Regions from separate parts of the Homo sapiens genome. Here all the other regions are linked to region 2. Evidence: promoter capture Hi-C in 16 types of primary human blood cells and fetal thymus (Javierre and others, 2016). All regions are on one chromosome and are shown on one strand. Each heading gives the region's core, a stretch centred on a gene start or on the middle of the fragment in contact. The rest is flanking DNA. Distances are from core to core; before and after follow the strand shown. Region 1 overlaps IL21R (interleukin 21 receptor). Region 2 holds the start of IL4R (interleukin 4 receptor). Region 3 overlaps IL21R (interleukin 21 receptor). Region 4 has its middle 5.4 kb from the start of IL21R.

Region 1 (2,700 bases), core at 179-2,678, 120 kb after region 2:
TCCGAGGGCTTTTTAATTCTCTCACGGTTTCCTACTCCTTGAAGCACTTCCTGAATCTCCGAGAGTGGGTGTCCTGTGGATCCAACTTCTGTAGAGCCGAGTCCTCTTCCTTGTCAGGGTTTTGGGACATTTTCAGCATAGCTGTCCTTGACTCTATGAGGTCCTGACCCTCTTGGGGTGTGTGCGTGTGCTCTGGCTGGGTTCCTACCACATCTGGGGCATTTAGGATATTGCCATTCTGAGTGGGAGCTTGGCCAGGAGGGACACAGACCTGGTGGCCGGGCGCAGGGCTCTGGAGGAGGGTGCTGAGCTGGGGACCAGCTAGTTTTATATTATTTGCCATCACATGCATCCTGTCTTCATAGCCAGCCTTGAAACATTGGTGCTCAAACAAGGAATTTCCAGGTGGTGAGGCCCCCTGGGTGCCAGGCCTACATCTAAGCAGCTCCTGAGTCCTCATATTTGTCCCGGCCTGGGGACCCCTGCACCCATTCTTCCTCCAGCCCTCGAGGGGATGGAGAGGAAGCTCTGCAGTCCCAAGCCACCCCCCACCAAGGCCTCTCTCCCCACTGACCCTCCAGGCTGGGGCTGCCCCGACCTCGTCTGCTACACCGATTACCTCCAGACGGTCATCTGCATCCTGGAAATGTGGAACCTCCACCCCAGCACGCTCACCCTTACCTGGTAAGTAGCCGGGCCTCACCAGTCCCCGGGGATGCAATTCAGGGTGCCTGCTCAGTGATTCCCCCAGGAGGACACTGTGCACTGAGGACCACTGTGTCCGCCTTTCAGACAACCACTCAGGGCTCACAGGACTTGAAAAGTCAGGAGCCCGCAGGGTTGGTCTATCCACCAGCTTCAAAGGCCACTCTCTCACCCACACAGGTCGGCCATGGTTTTGAGACCCCGGGATGGCTGGTTTCCCGCATGATTTTTCAAGCACTTAGGTACCAGGCCCCCAACTACACGCTTCCCATGAATGGTCACCCCCAACCCTCACAATGATTACTCCCATTTTACAGATGAGGACATTGAGGTTCAGAGAGGTTAAGCAACTTGCCTAAGGTCACACAGCCAGTGAATGCTGGAGCTGGGATTCAAATTCAGACCGCCCAACTCCAAAGTCCATGGGTCCCTTTTAGACCCTATGCAGCTCAGGATAAAGAAGAGCTTCTGTTATCCATCAGCTCATTCATTCATTCAAAACCATTTATAGGCCAGGTGCAGTGGCTCATGTTTCTAACCCCAGCACTTTGGGAGGCCAAGGAAGGAGGATCACTTGAGCCCAGGAGTTTGAGACCAGCCTGGGCAACATCACAAAACCCTGTCTCTACAAAAAATAAATCAGTCGGGCGTGGTGGCACAATCCTGTAATCCCAGCTACTTGAGAGTCTAAGGCAGGGGGACCAAGCTCAGGAGGTCGAGGCTGCAGTGAGCTATGATCACGCCACTGCACTCCAGCCTGGGCAAAAAAGCAAGATCCCAACTCAAAAACAAAACAAAACAAAACAAAACATGTATTAAGTTCCTGCCAGACACTGTTGCAGGCACTGGGGATTCAGCAGAGCAAGACTGACCAGGCCCCAGATGCCTTGGAACTGACGTACCACGGTGGGGCGGAGGCTGGGGGAGACAGACACACAAAACAACCAACAAGGTGCTTTCTCTTTTTTATTTTATTTTATTTTATTTTATTTTATTTTTTTGAGACAGGGTCTTGCTCTGTTGCCCAGGCTGGAGTGCAGTGGTGGGATCAGAACTCACTGTAGCCTTGACCTCCTGGGCTCAAGCAATCCCTCCACCTAAGCCTCCTGAGTAGCTGGGACTACAGGCATGCATCACCATACCTGGATAATTTTTGTAGTTTTTGTAAAGACAGGGTTTTGCCATGTTACCCAGGCTGGATTCAAACTCCTGGGCTCAAGCAATCTGCCCACCTCAGCCTCCCAAAGTGCTGGGATTACAGGTGTGAGCCACCATGCCAGGCCCAAACAGGACACTTTCTTTCTTTCTTTTTTTTGGAGACGGAGTCTCACTCTGTTGCCCAGGCTGGAGTGCGGTGGCATGATCTCGGCTCACTGCAACCTCCACCTCCTGGGTTCAAGCAATTCTCCTGCCTCAACCTCCCAAGTATCTGGGATTGCATCCAGGTGTGCACCACCATGCCTGGCTAATTTTTGTATTTTAAGTAGAGACAGGGTTTTGTCATGTTAGCCCACCTGGTCTCGAACTCCTGGCCTCAAGTGATCCGCCCACTGTACCCGCCTTTCAGACAACCACTCAGGGCTCACAGGACTTGAAAAGTCAGGAGCCCGCAGGGTTGGTCTATCCACCAGCTTCAAAGACCACTCTCTCGCCCACACAGGTCGCCCATGGTTTTGAGACCCCGGGATGGCCGGTCTGCCGCATGGCCAGCCTCCCAAAGTGTTGGGATTACAGGCATAAGCCACCGTGTTCTGCCCCAAACAGGATACTTTCTAATAATACTGGGTGCTATATCAAGGACAGAACACTGGACCTCAGGTAAAGGGACCACAACTGCTAGTGAGAAGGAGGAAGCCAGGGAGCTGGGCAGAGGGCACTGCCAGTGCAAAGGCCCTGTGGGAGAAGAGCTGGTGCGTTTGAGGAATAGGGAGGAGGTCAGTGTGGCTGGAGTGGAGTGAGGCAGGGTGAGGGGGAATAAGGAGCAAGTTCAGGCTG
Region 2 (2,700 bases), core at 134-2,633:
CCTCCACCACAGCACTTGATCCCATTGGGCAGTCCTTGGCTTCCACCCTCAAACTGAGAGCTCCTTGAGGGCAGCAGGGGGTCAAATTACTCTCTGGGTTCTCAGCACTGCCCAGTGTGAGTCCAAATATCTCCCACCTCCCCTGTCTCCGCTCTTTCCTCACTCAGGGCTCCACAGCCATGCCGGCCTTCAGCAATTCCTCCTGCAGGCTGAGCTGGTTCCCACAGGGCCTTTGCACTAGCTCTTCCCTCTCCCTACACAAGTCTTCCCCCATAGGCTCTTCAGAGTCTCAGCTCAAATGGCCTCTACTCAAAAAGCCTCTTCCAGACCACCTGCCCCACTGGTCTAAGAGGTCCCTACTTTCTTCTTGGGCCCTCCTGACCTGAAATACTTTGTTGAGTGTTTTCCCCCCAGTCATCTGGCTGCATCCGGGTTCTTATGGTGTCCAGACGTTAATGGTCTATGGGGCCTGTGTTCGAATCCCAGCTCCACCCCTGCTCCTGCTTACCTGCAGAGTGATTCTGAGTTTCTTTCTTTTCTTTTTTAAAATTTTATAAATGTCAATTTTTGTAGATAGGGGTCTCGCTAACAGGGTTGCCCAGGCTGGTCTCGAACTATGGGGTTCAAGTGATCCTCCCGCCTCAGCTTCCCAAAGTGCTGGGATTACAGGCATGAGCCACTTTGCCCAACCCATTTTGAATTTCTTAAGGACTCTGTGCCTCAGTTTCCTGATTTGTAAAACCGGTGATAGTATCACTCCCTTATAGGGTAGTTGCCAGGATTGAACGAGTTAACATTTGCAGTGCCCGACAGATTGTACTAGTTACTGATTGAAGGGCTGTTTTACTATCCAAATGTGGCTGGAGTAGGAGTTGGGTAAACATTTATTGAAGAATGTGCAACCACTCTCACTTGGAAGCCGGGCTGTTAGGAAGGGGAGGAGGATTCCAGTCGCCCAGCCCTCCCCCACCAAACGCAACTGCCCCGGCGCAAAAGAGGCCGCGGAGGCCAGGCAGGAGCAGGTCCTGGAGGCCTGGTCGGCGTGGGCGTTTTATTCCGAGACCAAGGGGATCCACTGCAGAGTTCTCCGCTGGGCGTGACCTCGGGCTACGGCGTGGGAGGAAGCGCGCGGCAAGACACCCAGCGAGGTGCTGGGGTCGCCCCCAGGAGAGGACGGCGGCTCGGACTGTCCGGCGGCGGCGGCGGGGACAGCGACAGGGGCGCGAGGTGGCCGGGACCCGGGCCGGGCGCGCCGGGCGGGGCGGCGCATGCAAATCTGCCGGGCGCCGGGGCGGGGAGCAGGAAGCCGGGGCGGGCTGGGTCTCCGCGCCCAGGAAAGCCCCGCGCGGCGCGGGCCAGGGAAGGGCCACCCAGGGGTCCCCCACTTCCCGCTTGGGCGCCCGGACGGCGAATGGAGCAGGGGCGCGCAGGTAGGATCCGGGGCCCGCGCGCGGATCGGGTTGCGAAGGTATCGCCCGGGCACGCCGGCTGAGGGCGTTCGGGAAGGGCTCGGCCGCCGGCGGGGACCACGGGGACCACCCCGACTCCGAGCGGGGCCCGAGCCCGCGACTCTCGGTGCGCGCGGAGCAGCGCCCGGTTCCGTCCTTGCCGCCGAACGGCAGCGGAGGCGCGAGGCCCGGGGTACGTGGACACCCAGCGCTCCCCAAAGCCGGTGCTGGCAGTGAGACCTCCGCCGGGACGGCCTGCGGGGGTGGGGGGCTTGGGGTTAGGCTGTCGGAGGCCACGCAGCCCCTCTTCTCCGGGCAGTGGCGCCCAGCCCTGCGCTCAGGAAGTCAGTGAGGACTTCGGAGAGAGAAAGGGTGGGGAAAGTTCTGAGAACTGTAAATTTGAGTAGTAGGTCAGTGAATCGGGGCGGTCTCCGCCTCCGAATATCAGATGGACCCAATAATCGCGATCATTGACTGGGACTTGTTTTACTGAAAGGATGCCAAGTGAAACCTCCCACTAACTTCTCTGTGGCCGGTGCTGTGCGTCATGGACATTGTACAGATGAGGTCACCAAGACCCCAGCCGCTTTAGTAACTTGCCCTAAGGTGCCGCCCACTTGGGAGTCCGTGGGGCAGCAGGACTAGAGCCCAGGCAATCCCACGCCAGAGCCAGCTGCTCTCCATCTCTCAATCACGTTTGAGGAGCCCCCACAATAACCAGAATCTCCGGGAGATTTGCTTAAAATGCAGATTCCCAGGTCCTTGCCCTGAGATTCAGATTCAGTAAACCCAGGAATCTGATCTTTATTTTATTTTTAAAAATTTATTTTATAAAGATGGTGTCTCACTATGTTGTCCAGGCTGGCCTCAAGTGATCCTCCCACCTCGGCCTCCCAAAATGCTGGGATGACAGGTGTGAGCCACTGAGCCCTGATTTTTTTTTTAAACAAAATCTGGATTTCTTAGACTTAAGCAAGATAGGGGACCACTAGTTTGTCTGCTTCTGGGGTTCAAGGAATGCCCCCAGGCCAGCGCTAACCCTGCTCCAGTTCTAGTCTCTCCCCTTCCCCAGCCCTCTGGGAGGCATGACCCACTGCACTTCCCTGCCCCCAGTAGCCTATGAGGAGCCCAAGGCATTTGCTGGGACCTCAGTGCCTTTATCAAAATCCCAAAGTCCAATGGGGAAACAGGCTCAGGTGTAGGTTTGGCCAGGGTGTCCTGCACATTAGGGCATTCCAGGGTCCTGCAGGGG
Region 3 (2,700 bases), core at 99-2,598, 100 kb after region 2:
GAATAATGTTGCTGTGAATATTTGTCTACAATGGTTTGTACATTTCTTTCTGGACATATATCCGCAATTGTTTTCTTTCCTTTTTCTTTCTTTTTTCTTTTCTTTTTTTTTTTTTTTTGAGACAGGGTCACACTCTGTCACCCAGGCTGGACTGCAATGGTGTGAAAACAGCTCACTGTAGCCTCAAACTCTTGGGCTCATGTGATCCTCCCACCTTAGCCTCCTGAGTAGCTGGGGCCACAGGTACATACCACCATGCCCAGAAAATGTTTTCATTTTAATTTTTGTAGAGATGAGGTCTTGCCATGTTACCCAGGCTAGTCTCAAACTCCTGGGCTCAAGCAACCCTCCCGCCTTGGCCTCCCAGTATGCTGGGATTACAGGCATGAGCTACTGCATCTGGTCAATTCTTTTCACTATATAACTAGGTGTGAAATTTCTTGGTCATATGGAAACAGTCATACATTGCTTAATGACGAGGATACATTCTGAGAAATGTGTCATTAGGTAATTTTGTCATTGTGTGAACGTCATAGAGTGCACTTACACAAACCTAGGTGGTATAGCCTACTACACACCTAGGCTGTATCTTACAGCCTATAATTGGCTACAAACCTGCACAGCATGATACGGTACTGAATACTGTAGGCAACTGTAACACAATTGTAAGTATTTGTGTATCTAAACATAGAAAAGGTACAGTGAAAACATAATATAAAATATGAAAAAACGGCACACCTGTGTAGGGCACTTACCATGAATGCAGTTTGCAGGATTCGAAGTTGCTCTGGGTGTCAGTGATTAAGTGCTGAGGGAATGTGAAGGCCCAGGACATTGCTGTACACTCCTGTAAACTTTATCAACACTGAACTCTTAGGCTACTCTAAATTTATTTGAATTTTTAAAATAATAAATTAACTTTGGCTTACTGTAACATTTTTCCTATTTTATTTATTTTATTTTATTTTATTTTATTTTATTTTATTTTATTTTATTTTATTTTATTTATGTTATTTTATTTTATTTAAGACGGAGGTTCGCTCTATCGCCCAGGCTGGAGTGCAGTGGCGTGATCTCGGCTCACTGCAAGCTCCGCCTCCCGGGTTCACGCCATTCTCCTGCCTCAGCCTCCCAAGTAGCTGGGACTACAGGCGCCTGCCACTGCGCCCGGCTAATTTTTTGTATTTTTAGTAGAGATGGGGTTTCACGTGCTAACCAGGATGGTCTCGATCTCCTGACCTTGTGATCTGCCCGTCTCGCCCTTCCAAAGCGCTGGGATTACAGGCGTAAGCTACCGCGCCCGGCCCTATTTTATTTCATTTTTTGAGACAGAGTCTCACTCTATCACCCAGGCTGGAGTGCAGTGTCGCGATCTCAGCTCACTGCAACCTCCGCCTCCCAGGTTCAGGCAATTCTCCTGTCTCAGCCTCCAGAGTAGCTGGGACTACAGGTGCGCGCCACCACGCTCGGCTAATTTTTTTGGTATTTTTAGTAGAGACGGGGTTTCACCATGTTAGCCAGGATAGTCTTGATCACCTGACCTCGTGATCTGCCCGCCTTGGCCTCCCAAAGTGCTGGGATTACAGGCATGAGCCGCTGCGCCCCGCCAACATTTTTTCTTTATAAACATTTTAACTTTTTAAAACTTTTTGAATAACACTTTTGTAATAACAGTTATCTTATTGTAATAACACTTAAGTGTTTTCGTGCACTCTTGTACTAACACTTAAGACACAAACACATTGTACAGCTATACAAAATATTTTTCTTTATATTCTTATTCTAAAAGCCTTTTTATATATTATATTTTAAAATTTTTTATTTTTTATTTTTTTACTTAAAAAAATTTTTTTTTGTTAAAACCTAAGACACGCGGGGCATGGTGGCTCATGCCCGTAATCCCGGCACTTTGGGAGGCCAAGGAGGGCGGATCGCCTGCAATCAGGAATTCGAGACCAGCCTGGCCAACATGGTGAAAGCCCCATCTCTACTAAAAATACAAAATTGGCCAAGCATGGTGGCGGGCGCCTGTAATCCCAGCTACTTGGGAGGCTGAGACAGGAGAATCACTTGAACCCGGGAAAACCAACACCACGCCATTGCACTCCAGCCTAGGCAACAAGAGCAAAACTCCATCTCAAAAAAACCCAGAAAACAAAAAACAAAAAATCTAAGACACAGGCAGACACATTAGCCTAGGCCTACACAGGGTCAAGATCACCAATATGACTGTCTTCCACCTCCACATTTTGTCCCACTGGAAGGTCTTCAGTGGCAAAAACACACATGGAGCTGGCATCTCCTATGATAATGATGCCTTCTTCCGGAATCCATCCTGAAGGACCTGCCTGAGGCTGTTTTACAAGTTAACATTTTTTGTTTGTTTTTAAGAGTCTTGCTCTGTCACCCAGGCTGGAGTGCAGTGGCACAATCTTGGCTCACTGCAGCCTCCACCTCCTGGGTTCATGCGATTCTTGTGCCTCAGTCTCACGAATAGCTGGAATTACAAGCACACACCACCGTGCCTGGCTAATTTTTGTATTTTTAGTAGAGATGGGGTTTCACCATGTTGGCCAGGCTGGTTTCCAACTCCTGACCTCAAGTGATCTGCCTGCCTCAGCCTCCCAAAGTGCTGGGATTACAGGCGTAAGCCACTGTGCCCCTCCAACATTTTTTTTTAAGTAAGTACAAGGAGCACAC
Region 4 (2,700 bases), core at 116-2,615, 83 kb after region 2:
TATAAAATTTCACAAAAATACAAGCAAACTAATTCTACAGCACATTAAAAGGATTATACAGTGTGACCAAAAAGGATTTATCCCAGGAATGCAAGGGTGGTTCAACATAAGAAAATTAATCAATACAATACATAACATTAATAGAATAAGAAAACCCACACGATCATCCAAATTGATGCAGAAAAGCATTTGACAAAATTTAACACCCTTTCATGATAAAAACACTCAGTAAAGTAGGAATAAGAGAGAACTCCCTCAACATGATAAAGACCATATATGAAAAACCTGGCTGGGCACAGTGGCTCATGCCTGTAATACCAGCACTTTGGGAGGCCGAGACAGGCAGATCACCTGAGATCAGGAGTTCGAGACCAGCCTGGCCAACATGGTGAAATGCTGTCTCTACTAAAAATACAAAAATTAGTTGGATGTGGTGGCACACACCTGTAATCCCAGCTACTTGGGAGGCTGAGGCAGGAGAATCACTTGAACCCATGAGGTTGCAATGAGCTAAGATCATGCCACTGCACTCCAACCTGCACCAGAGTGAGACTCCATCTCAAATAAAAAAGAGAGAGACAGAGAAAGAAGGAAAGAGAGAAAGAAAGAAAGAGAAATAAAGAAAGAAAAACCCGCAGCTAACAAGCTAACATCACACTAAATCAGTGAAAGACTGAAAACTTTTCCACCAAGATCAGGAAAGAGGATGCCCACTTTCACCACTGGTATTCAACATTGCACTGAAAGTTTTAACCAGAACAATTCAGCAAGAAAAAGAAATAAAAGGCATTCAAATGGGAAAAGGAAAGAGTAAAAACTACTGTTATTCGCAGATGACATGATCATATATATGGAAAATTCTAAAGAACGCACAAAGAAATTATTAGAGCTAATAAATTCAGCCAAGTGACAGGGTATAAGATCAACATACAAAAATAAATTGTGTTTGTATATACTAGCAATAAACAACCCCAAAAGGAAATTAAATAAATTCTATTTATAATAGCATCAAAAATAATAAAATACTTAAGAATAAATTTAACCAAGGAGGTGCAAGATTTGTACACTGAACACTATAAAATATTGCTGAAAAAATTAGAAAAGACCTAAATAAAGTTTTTTAAATTCTATGTTAATGTAATGGAAGATTTAACATTGCACTCCTCAAAGTAATTTATAGATTTAATGCAATTCCTATAAAAGTCCCAATGGCCTTTTTTAAAAAATGGAAAAACTGATCCTAAAAATCATGTGAAATTTCAAGGGACCCAGAAAAGCCAAAACAATAAAGTTGGAGGACTCAAATTCCCATTTTTAAAATTTACTGCAGAGCCAAGATTGTGCCATTGCATTCCAGCCTGGGCAACAAGAGCGAAACTCTGTCTCAAAACAACACAAAAACAAAAACAAAACAAAACAAAACTTACTGCAGAGCTACAGTAATCAAAACAGTGTGATAATCCTGGCACAAGGCTAGACATATAGATCAATGGAATTGAACTTAGAGTTCAGAAATAAACCCATGAATCTATAGTCAATTTTTTTTCATTTTTTTTGCATTAAAGCACACTATCAACAAAGTGAAAAGACAGCCACAGAATGGGAAAAATATTTGTAATTCATATATCTGATAAAGGTGAGTTTCCAGAATATACAAAGAACTCTTAAAATTCAACAACAAATGATGAACAATCAAATTTAAAAATTGGCAAGGAGCTGGGCACGGTGGCTTATGCCTGTAATCCCAGCACTTTGGGAGACTGAGGTGGGCGGATCACCTGAGGTTAAGGGTTCGAGACCAGCCTGGTCAACATGGTGAAAACCCGTCTCTACTAAAAACACAAAAATTAGCTGGATATGGTGGCACACGTTTGTAAGCCCAGCTACTCGGGAGGCCGAGGCACAAGAATCGCTTGAACCCAGGAGGTAGAGGTTTCAGTGAGCCAAGATCACACCACTGCACTCCAGTGTGGGAGACAGATCAAGACTCTGTCTAAAAAAAAAATAAAATAAATAAAATTTGGCAAGGGACTTCAATAGACATTACTCCAAACAAGATATGCAAATGACTACCAAGCACATGAAAAGATGCTTACCATCATTAGCCATTAGGGAAATGCAAATCAAAACCACAATGAGATACCACTTCACATCCGCTAGGATGGCTATAATAAAAACCAACAGAAAATACATATTGTCTGCTGGGTGCGGTGGCTCACGCCTGTAATCCCAGCACTTTGGGAGGCCGAGGCGGGCGCATCACGAGGTCAGGAGATCGAGACCATCCTGGCTAACACGGTGAAACCCCGTCTCTACAAAAGAAAATACAAAAAATTAGCCAGGCGTGGTGGCAGGCACCTGTAGTCCCAGCTACTCGGGAAGCTGAGGCAGGAGAATGGCGTGAACCCGGGAGGCGGAGCTTGCAGTGAGCCGAGATCGCGCCACTGCACTCCAGCCTGGGCGACAGACCGAGACTCCATCTCAAAAAAAAAAAAAAAAAGAAAAAAAAAAAAAAGAAAATACATATTGTCAAGGACGTAGAGAAATGGGAACCTTCAGACATTGCTGGTGGGAATATAATACAGGGCAGCTGCTGTGAAAAACAGTTTGTCAGTTTCTTAATAAGTTAAACTTATTTAAAAGTTAATAAGTTAAACTACCTTTAACTCAACAAGTCTCCTTCTGGGTATATATCCAAAA

The links. The method cuts DNA at HindIII sites, captures the fragments that hold promoters and counts their contacts. A CHiCAGO score of 5 or more calls a contact.
Region 1: a fragment that was not itself captured here is called in contact with the fragment with the promoter of IL4R in region 2 in 5 of 17 cell types (total B cells, activated CD4 T cells, non-activated CD4 T cells and 2 more); the score reaches 6.8 in total B cells.
Region 3: a contact is called between a fragment that was not itself captured here and the fragment with the promoter of IL4R in region 2, in 4 of 17 cell types (monocytes, non-activated CD4 T cells, total B cells and 1 more). The highest score is 6.7, in monocytes.
Region 4: a fragment that was not itself captured here is called in contact with the fragment with the promoter of IL4R in region 2 in 1 of 17 cell types (monocytes); the score reaches 5.5 in monocytes.

The regions. Positions count from the first base shown.
Region 1 is chr16:27,433,766-27,436,465 of GRCh38, forward strand. It overlaps IL21R (interleukin 21 receptor), which reads left to right. Exons shown (of 9, transcript NM_181078.3): 3 at 582-684. Among named protein-coding and RNA genes, the nearest start is that of IL21R-AS1, 18 kb to the right of the region's middle. The HindIII fragment of the contact is 7,943 bases long and covers 1-2,700 here.
Region 2 is chr16:27,312,591-27,315,290 of GRCh38, forward strand. IL4R (interleukin 4 receptor) reads left to right here and starts at 1,384. Exons shown (of 11, transcript NM_000418.4): 1 at 1,384-1,430. RefSeq lists an enhancer at 597-1,327 and silencers at 1,105-1,404, 1,425-1,634, 2,075-2,124. The HindIII fragment of the contact is 16,225 bases long and covers 1-2,700 here.
Region 3 is chr16:27,417,062-27,419,761 of GRCh38, forward strand. All of the region lies in intron 1 of IL21R (interleukin 21 receptor), which reads left to right. Among named protein-coding and RNA genes, the nearest start is that of IL21R, 16 kb to the left of the region's middle. The HindIII fragment of the contact is 5,619 bases long and covers 1-2,700 here.
Region 4 is chr16:27,395,443-27,398,142 of GRCh38, forward strand. No RefSeq gene overlaps it. Among named protein-coding and RNA genes, the nearest start is that of IL21R, 5.4 kb to the right of the region's middle. The HindIII fragment of the contact is 8,609 bases long and covers 1-2,700 here.